2 separate regions of the Homo sapiens genome follow, and region 2 is linked to region 1. Evidence: promoter capture Hi-C in human tissues and cell types (Jung and others, 2019). All regions are on one chromosome and are shown on one strand. The core of a region is centred on a gene start or on the middle of the fragment in contact, and the rest is flanking DNA. Distances in the headings are between cores, read along the strand shown.

The links. Contacts are between HindIII fragments. The study calls those that stand out against the background at their distance.
Region 2: a contact is called between a fragment that was not itself captured here and the fragment with the promoter of REEP1 in region 1, in 2 of the 25 tissues and cell types used here (aorta and dorsolateral prefrontal cortex).

What each region holds. Positions count from the first base shown.
Region 1 is chr2:86,336,106-86,339,334 of GRCh38, forward strand. It overlaps REEP1 (receptor accessory protein 1), which reads right to left and starts at 1,521. Exons shown (of 9, transcript NM_001371279.1): 1 at 1,374-1,521. The coding sequence starts at 1,405. The HindIII fragment of the contact is 14,274 bases long and covers 1-3,229 here.
Region 2 is chr2:86,453,687-86,457,028 of GRCh38, forward strand. KDM3A (lysine demethylase 3A) reads left to right here. Exons shown (of 26, transcript NM_018433.6): 5 at 1,399-1,501; 6 at 2,756-2,880; 7 at 3,119-3,191; 8 at 3,297-3,342. Among named protein-coding and RNA genes, the nearest start is that of KDM3A, 14 kb to the left of the region's middle. The HindIII fragment of the contact is 4,436 bases long and covers 1-3,342 here.

The sequences.
Region 1 (3,229 bases), core at 271-2,770:
TGTTGGTCAGGCATGAGGCTGGGCAAGGCGTGTCAGCCACTTTCCTGTATTATTCATGTCGGCTCTGCCAGCAGAAATCTTCTAAATATTTAACATGCCACCTCAAGGTGCAGCGCAAACACCCCGCAGTCAGGAACAGCTGTGGAGAGGCCTTCACGGAATGACTTGGGGGCTGAGAGGCACAGACACTGGCTTTGGGAGGAAAGCCCTGAATGGTGGCGGGAGACAATGCTGAGATCCACTTCGGAAGGGAAAATCAGTAAAGAAGGGAAGGGAGATGGGTGGTGTTTCAAAACGTGGGGAGTGATGGTGCACAATCACTGGGGTCCAGAGCCCCGTGTTCTCAGACAAAGAAAAAGCCCGAGGTGCCTGCCACCCTCCTCCCCGCCTTAGACTCCCCACACCCATTTCAGCCCCTGCTAGCTACAGCAGGTGGCAAATCTGTTCTGACTCAGGCCAGGATGGTTAGGGAAGAACAGGGACTTGGAACAGCCACGTCTATCTCCAAAGGAGAATAAATCCACCGGGGAAGCTCTTCAAACGCCTACAGGTCCTGGGGCTTGAAGGAGAAAATCGGCCCCCACGCCCACCCCCAATGACTTCACACAGACCTCACCCTAGATGACTCTGCGCTCTCCTGCAAGGCCTGGGAGGTGTCATCGCCACCATGCGGGTGGCTGTCACTTGAAAATTTCCCGTGCATTCCTGGAGGTACCTGCCCCTGTCTCTCAATCCCCTGCAAAAGGAGTCGGAGCCGGGGGCTCCAGGCGTTTACTCCAAGATTCACATGCGTCTTCCCATGTCCCAGCTGCCTTTGCCGCTGTCGATGCAGACACCTAAAAAGGAGGATTTTTCCAACCCCACTGGGAGCCCCGCCTCTGCCTCTCCACCCGTTCCGCGCTGACCCTCCAGGCAGCGCCCCTGGTTCGTCTGCGCTGTCCTTTCCACCTGACAAAAGCTGGGGCGGCGGGGCGCGGCGCCGGGCGACCTCACATTTCTGCCAAAGGAGAGAGACGCGTGTCCGCGGTGCGCCCATTCGGGGCCTCTGCAAATCGACCGAGCTGAGGAACAAAGCGGCCAGCGCGCGGCGAGACGCAGCCCCCACGGAACCCCCGAGCGCCCCAGCCCTCGCCGTCCCGGCCCAGCCCCCCGCAAGCGGCCGCCGGCGCCGGCTGCCTCCTGGGCAGCAGCCGCGTCCTGCGCCGCCCGTCCGCCCGCAGGCGTCCTCGGCGGCTACTGTACCTGCTAAATTTAGCTGCGCCGGGTATTAATAGCCCGAGCCACTGGGACCGGGCGCTGTAGGGGCGCGCGCAGCCCGGGGCCGGGGGCGGGGAGGGAGGGGACGGAGGGGCGCGGGGGAGAAGGCCACTTACACCACCAGCCTGGAGATGATCCATGACACCATGGCGGGCAGGCGGGCGGGCGAGGCCCGGGCGGCGCGGCTCGGCTAGGCTGCGGGCGGCGCGGGCTGCTGCGGCGTTCCCGGAACGTCAGTCAGCTCACGGCAGCCGCCGCCAGACTGAGCGCGCCCGCCGCCCTGCCCGGCGTTCGCGCGTTGGCGCAGCCGCGGCACGTTCTGGCGGCGGCGGCGGCGGCCCCAGCCCCCCGGGGCTCGGCGGGCCCGCAGCGATTGGGCGGTGAGCTGGTCAGGGCACCCGCGGGCCCGCCCCGTCCCGCTCGCCCTGGCCCCCGGCTGAAGGCGGGCGCGTCCTGCGCGCTCCCCGGGGCACCGGCCCCGCCAAAGGAACCCTGCAGCGGCCCCGTTTGCAGGGCAGGGACCCGGGTGCTGCCCCACCCTCAGCGTTCCAGCGGAGAAACTGAAGTCCGAACCTGAACCTCGGGAATCTGTCTGCACCTGTCTAGGTGGGATGCTGTCATCCCTCATTCAGCTAGTGCGTTAGCCTCATAAAGGGTTTACCTGGATCCAGACCTAACCTCTTCAGTCTGTCCGTTGCTCAGCACTTTCTGCATAAGAAACAAACCTGGGCGCTTGCCTCCCTACTTAAAATTCTACAGAGTCCCTATATGATCGTGGTACCTGCCTAGAACCGTGTTGCCAAGACCATTCCCCCAAATAGTCCTCTAGCTCTTTTCCCTCCAGGCATCTTGGACTCAAATATTTGCTGTTTCTTCTTCCCTGTCAGTACACGCCACGCCTCATCGTCCTGCCTTGGTTTGATTCAGCTCCTTCTTCTAGGCTGGGCTGAAGGGCTACTTCTTCCTAGGGAAGGCCTTTCCTTGGGGGCTGCTCCGGGCCCTAGGAGGAGACTAGAAGCTGCGACTGCTTAGCACCAGTGCCCCGCTGAGCCACGTTGAACTCTTAGGCAAAAGGGAACTTGTGCACCCTATATAAACGTTTTTATGTATTTTTTAAAATACCGTATTAAATATTATGGTGGTTTTTTTTGTTGTTGTTGTTTTTTTATGAGACAGAGTCTCGCTCTGGGGTGCAGTGGCGCGATCTCGGCTCACTGCAAGCTCCGCCTCCCGGGTTCAAGCGATTCTTCTGCCTCAGCCTCATGAGTAGCTGAGATTACAGGAGTGCGCCACCACGCCCAGCTAATTTTTGTATTTTTAGTAGAGACGGGGTTTCACCATGTTGTCCAGGCTGGTCTCAAACTCCTGACCTCGTGATCCGCCCGCCTTGGCCTCCCAAAGTGCTGGGATTACAGGAGTGAGCCACCTATTATGTATTTTAGTTGCTGAATTTTATGGCACCTCTTAAATGTTGCACCCTCACTGAGCGCCTCACTCTGCTCACCCTAGTCCCGGCCGCAGATAGTACATTATTCTGTTACACTGGAAACGCTTTGTCCTCTACTCCTAGGCTCTGCTGCTGCTTTTCCCACCCTCCAATAGCTTAGGTTCTGCGTGGTGCTCCCAGCGCCCTGTCCTTTGCTGATGATGGTGTCATGTATAATTCAGTGTCAGATGTGAGAAGCGCAGGAGACAGCTTAGTACTCTCAGATGTAGCAGAATCTGTGCGTGCGTGTGCCTGATATAGTCAGAAGAAAGACTTCACGGACAACAAAGGGACTGCAGATGAGACATGCTCTCATATCTCAGGTCTCCAAAGAACCCATAAAATAGCTGTAATGTAGCAGTTTTTTCATGCTGCCTTGACCCAGTTTTGAGGCTCAGGCTGGAGGCTGGTCAGTTCCCCTTCTCCAGCAGTCTATTAACTGCATACCCCCAACCACTTCCGTTAGCAGGCTCTCACACGCGGGAC
Region 2 (3,342 bases), core at 551-3,050, 120 kb after region 1:
AAAAAAACAAAAACTAACCCATTCTGGTAATTAATGTTGATCTCTTATGGAGTCCCTAGGTTTGTCTAATGTTACTTGGCAAAAGAAATACATTTTTCCAGCACAGCTTCTCTAACAGACTAGTTATCCTTCCCAGTGGGAAAAATGGATGACCCATTCTTGGTCATTATCCATTTCACAGTGGCAGAAAAGCATAAAGCCCTGATATTGGAAGGGCTTCTGTGTTGAGCACTGTTTTTTCTTTGCCCTGCTAGAATTCGGTTTGGCAAGTTATTCCTATTGACAGTTTCTGTATTACATTTATCATAACTGGGTGTGCACACAAAGCCAGAAGACTGTGGAATAGTGCCAAGAATGGAGCTGCTGCCAAGAATTGAATGTTTCAGAACTGGCTTACTCTGACGCCTTAGGCTATTCATTCAGATTTTCTGTTTGTCCCCCCACCTCCCTTTTTGTAAAAAAGAATGCATTTTGTAATACTAGTTAGGTTAAATGAATCTGTGTGAAATGAGTTGTTAAAAACAGCAGTTTCTTACCAGGAAGGGAGCTGAAGCTTGGTCAGCTTTAAGGGGCCTTAGAAAATAGGGTTTTGGCCTAGGTAACCAGGCTGAGATGTGGTTCAAAATTTTCCCTAAAATTGCCATCATGGGTGCATGCTTGCTCATCCCCAGGGTGGCCACTGGGCACAGCCATGGGTTTACTAATGGGAATATGGAAAAAAGGGCTGCCCATTATCAGTGGACTTTGGTGGAAAGAGATATGTGTACCTCTGGAGTTAATCTTTACAATGTGTCAAAAGGTTTGGAGAACATTGATCAAGGAAACATTTTTCTGATTGATGAATAAACTAACTCTCAGTTATGGTCATCTACCCCTGCTAGTAGGTTACACAGTGTATTATATAGTACATGCAGTGTGTTATATAAAATAAAAAAAAAACCCAGACAGTAATTGCAATGAATCGACCATATACATCTGTCTCTTGTGTGTCATATCTGTGTTTTTTGTCCCTTGGATTTGGATTGTGATTTCCCCATCCCCAGTATTTAGGATACAGAGTGTTTTTTACTTGGATTGACCAGCTGTTTGTTTGCTTACTTTTTTCCCATTGCCAAAGTTAGTCATTTTTAAAATTATGCTTTGAGTTCCTCTTAATATTTCTCATGCTTCTAGCTTGGGATGACTTTACTTCAGTCTGCCTTATAGCTGTGATCATTTGATGGTCTAGGACTTTTTGAGCCATCTGGTTTACTGGAATTGGAATGATTTGGGCTATCACATGGTTTGTTGACACTACTTTAACCCATTTGATTAACCAATTGAAATAGCCCACTGGAATTTAAATAACTCTTCTTATTAACTGTTACCCTTAACATGTAATGATCTTTCATTTTTCAGGATGTAAACAGTCTTCGACTTTCTCTTACGGATAATCAGATTGTCAGTAAAGAATTTCAAGCTTTGATTGTGAAGCATTTAGATGAAAGCCATCTTTTAAAAGGTATATGCATTATCTAGTGGTGATAGTTCACGAGTTGACCAATGATTAGCTTGTGAGAAACTAGGGTTTAGCCTCTCATTCATTTGCTCATGGAAATTTCTTTTTTCTTTTTTTTTTTTTTTGAGACAGTCTAGTTCCTAGGCTGGAGTGCCAGTGGTGCTGTCTTGGCTCACTGCAACCTCTGCCTTACAAGTAGCTAGGACTACAGGCACGCACCACCACACCCGGCTAGTTTTTGTATTTTTAGTAGAGACAAGATTTCACTATTTCACCATGTTGGCCAGGCTGGTGTCAAACTCCTGGCCTTAAGTGATCTGCCTGCCAAGTGTGAGCCATCACGCCGGGCCATTTCTTACTTTTTTTCTAAAATAAATTTTTAAGAAATTTAAAATTTAAAATTCAAAAAATGTGTGTGTTGCTAAAACCTCTGAAATTTGGAAAGTTCAGGGATTATATGAAACTAACAGTAAAGTAGGGCCAGGCACAGTGGCTCAAGCCTGTGATCCCAGCACTTTGGGACATCCAAAGTGGGAGGATTGCTTGAGCCTAGGATAGGAGTTCAAGACCAGCTTGGGCAACACAGGGAGACGTCGATCTCTACAAAACATTTTTAAAAAAATTAGCCCGGTGTGGTGGCACATGCCTGTAATCCCAGCTACTCAGGAGGCTGAGGCAGGAGGATCACTTGAACCCAGGAGGTCAAGGCTACAGTGATCCCTGATTACACTGCTACACTCCAGCCTGGGTGAGAGCAAGACCCTGTCTCAAAAAAAAAAAAAAAAAAAAGAAAAGAAAAAAGATATTTTTAAAGCTCAGCTATATTTTGATGTGGAATTTGATATGTTTGGAATATCAGCCATATAAAATGGATAAGGCATTAATTTGATACTCCTTACCTTCCCATTTGTGTTACTGAGTTTCTACAATCATACATTTTTTTTCTGTGTTTTTTAGATTATCAGACATAGTATTTTTGTTGGGGTTCCTGAATTTGATTCCTCTAAAACTACACAGGACAGTGAGTGAGGTCTTGATGAATTGTCTAATACTACTTTGGTCCGATACAAAATAAAAAGTTTAAATTTTCTCATAGCTTTTCTGAAATGTCAGTCATCTTATGTTTGTAGTGATTCTTTTAATGTTTACTTTTGCGTTTTTTTAAAAAAGACTTAGGAAAAGATTGTCCTGGATGATGTTGCTATTGGGAGATAATGCAAATTGCTCTAAGATTTTTTTTTTTTTTTTTTTTTTAAGGTGACAAAAACTTAGTTGGTTCAGAAGTAAAAATTTATAGCTTGGACCCATCTACTCAGTGGTTTTCAGCAACCGTTATAAATGGAAACCCAGCATCAAAAACTCTTCAAGTCAACTGTGAGGAGGTAAAGACAACAATAACTCTTTGTAAGATAACTCGACAAAGCATGATAACTATACAAAGCATTTATGATTTTCTAGGCACTAAATACCTTTATTATTTTATAGGGTAGAAATAATTACAGTTGTTTTAAAAAGAAATTATTCATAAGAAGCTCCTATTGTTATGTTAATGAACCTGATTTTCAGTATGTTCTTGAGCATTTTTTATTTTCCGGTATCTTTGTTTCATTTATTTTTAAGATTCCAGCACTGAAAATTGTTGATCCGTCACTGATTCATGTTGAAGTTGTACACGATAACCTTGTGACATGTGGTAAGATATGTTATTAAAATCTTTCTTCTCCTTCCTCCTTTCCTCCGTTCTTCTCACATTAAGAGAAACAGGGAAGCCAACTTAACCTATTTTTAAATATTTTAGGTAATTCTGCAAGAATTGGAGCTGTAAAACGCAAGTCTTCTGAGAA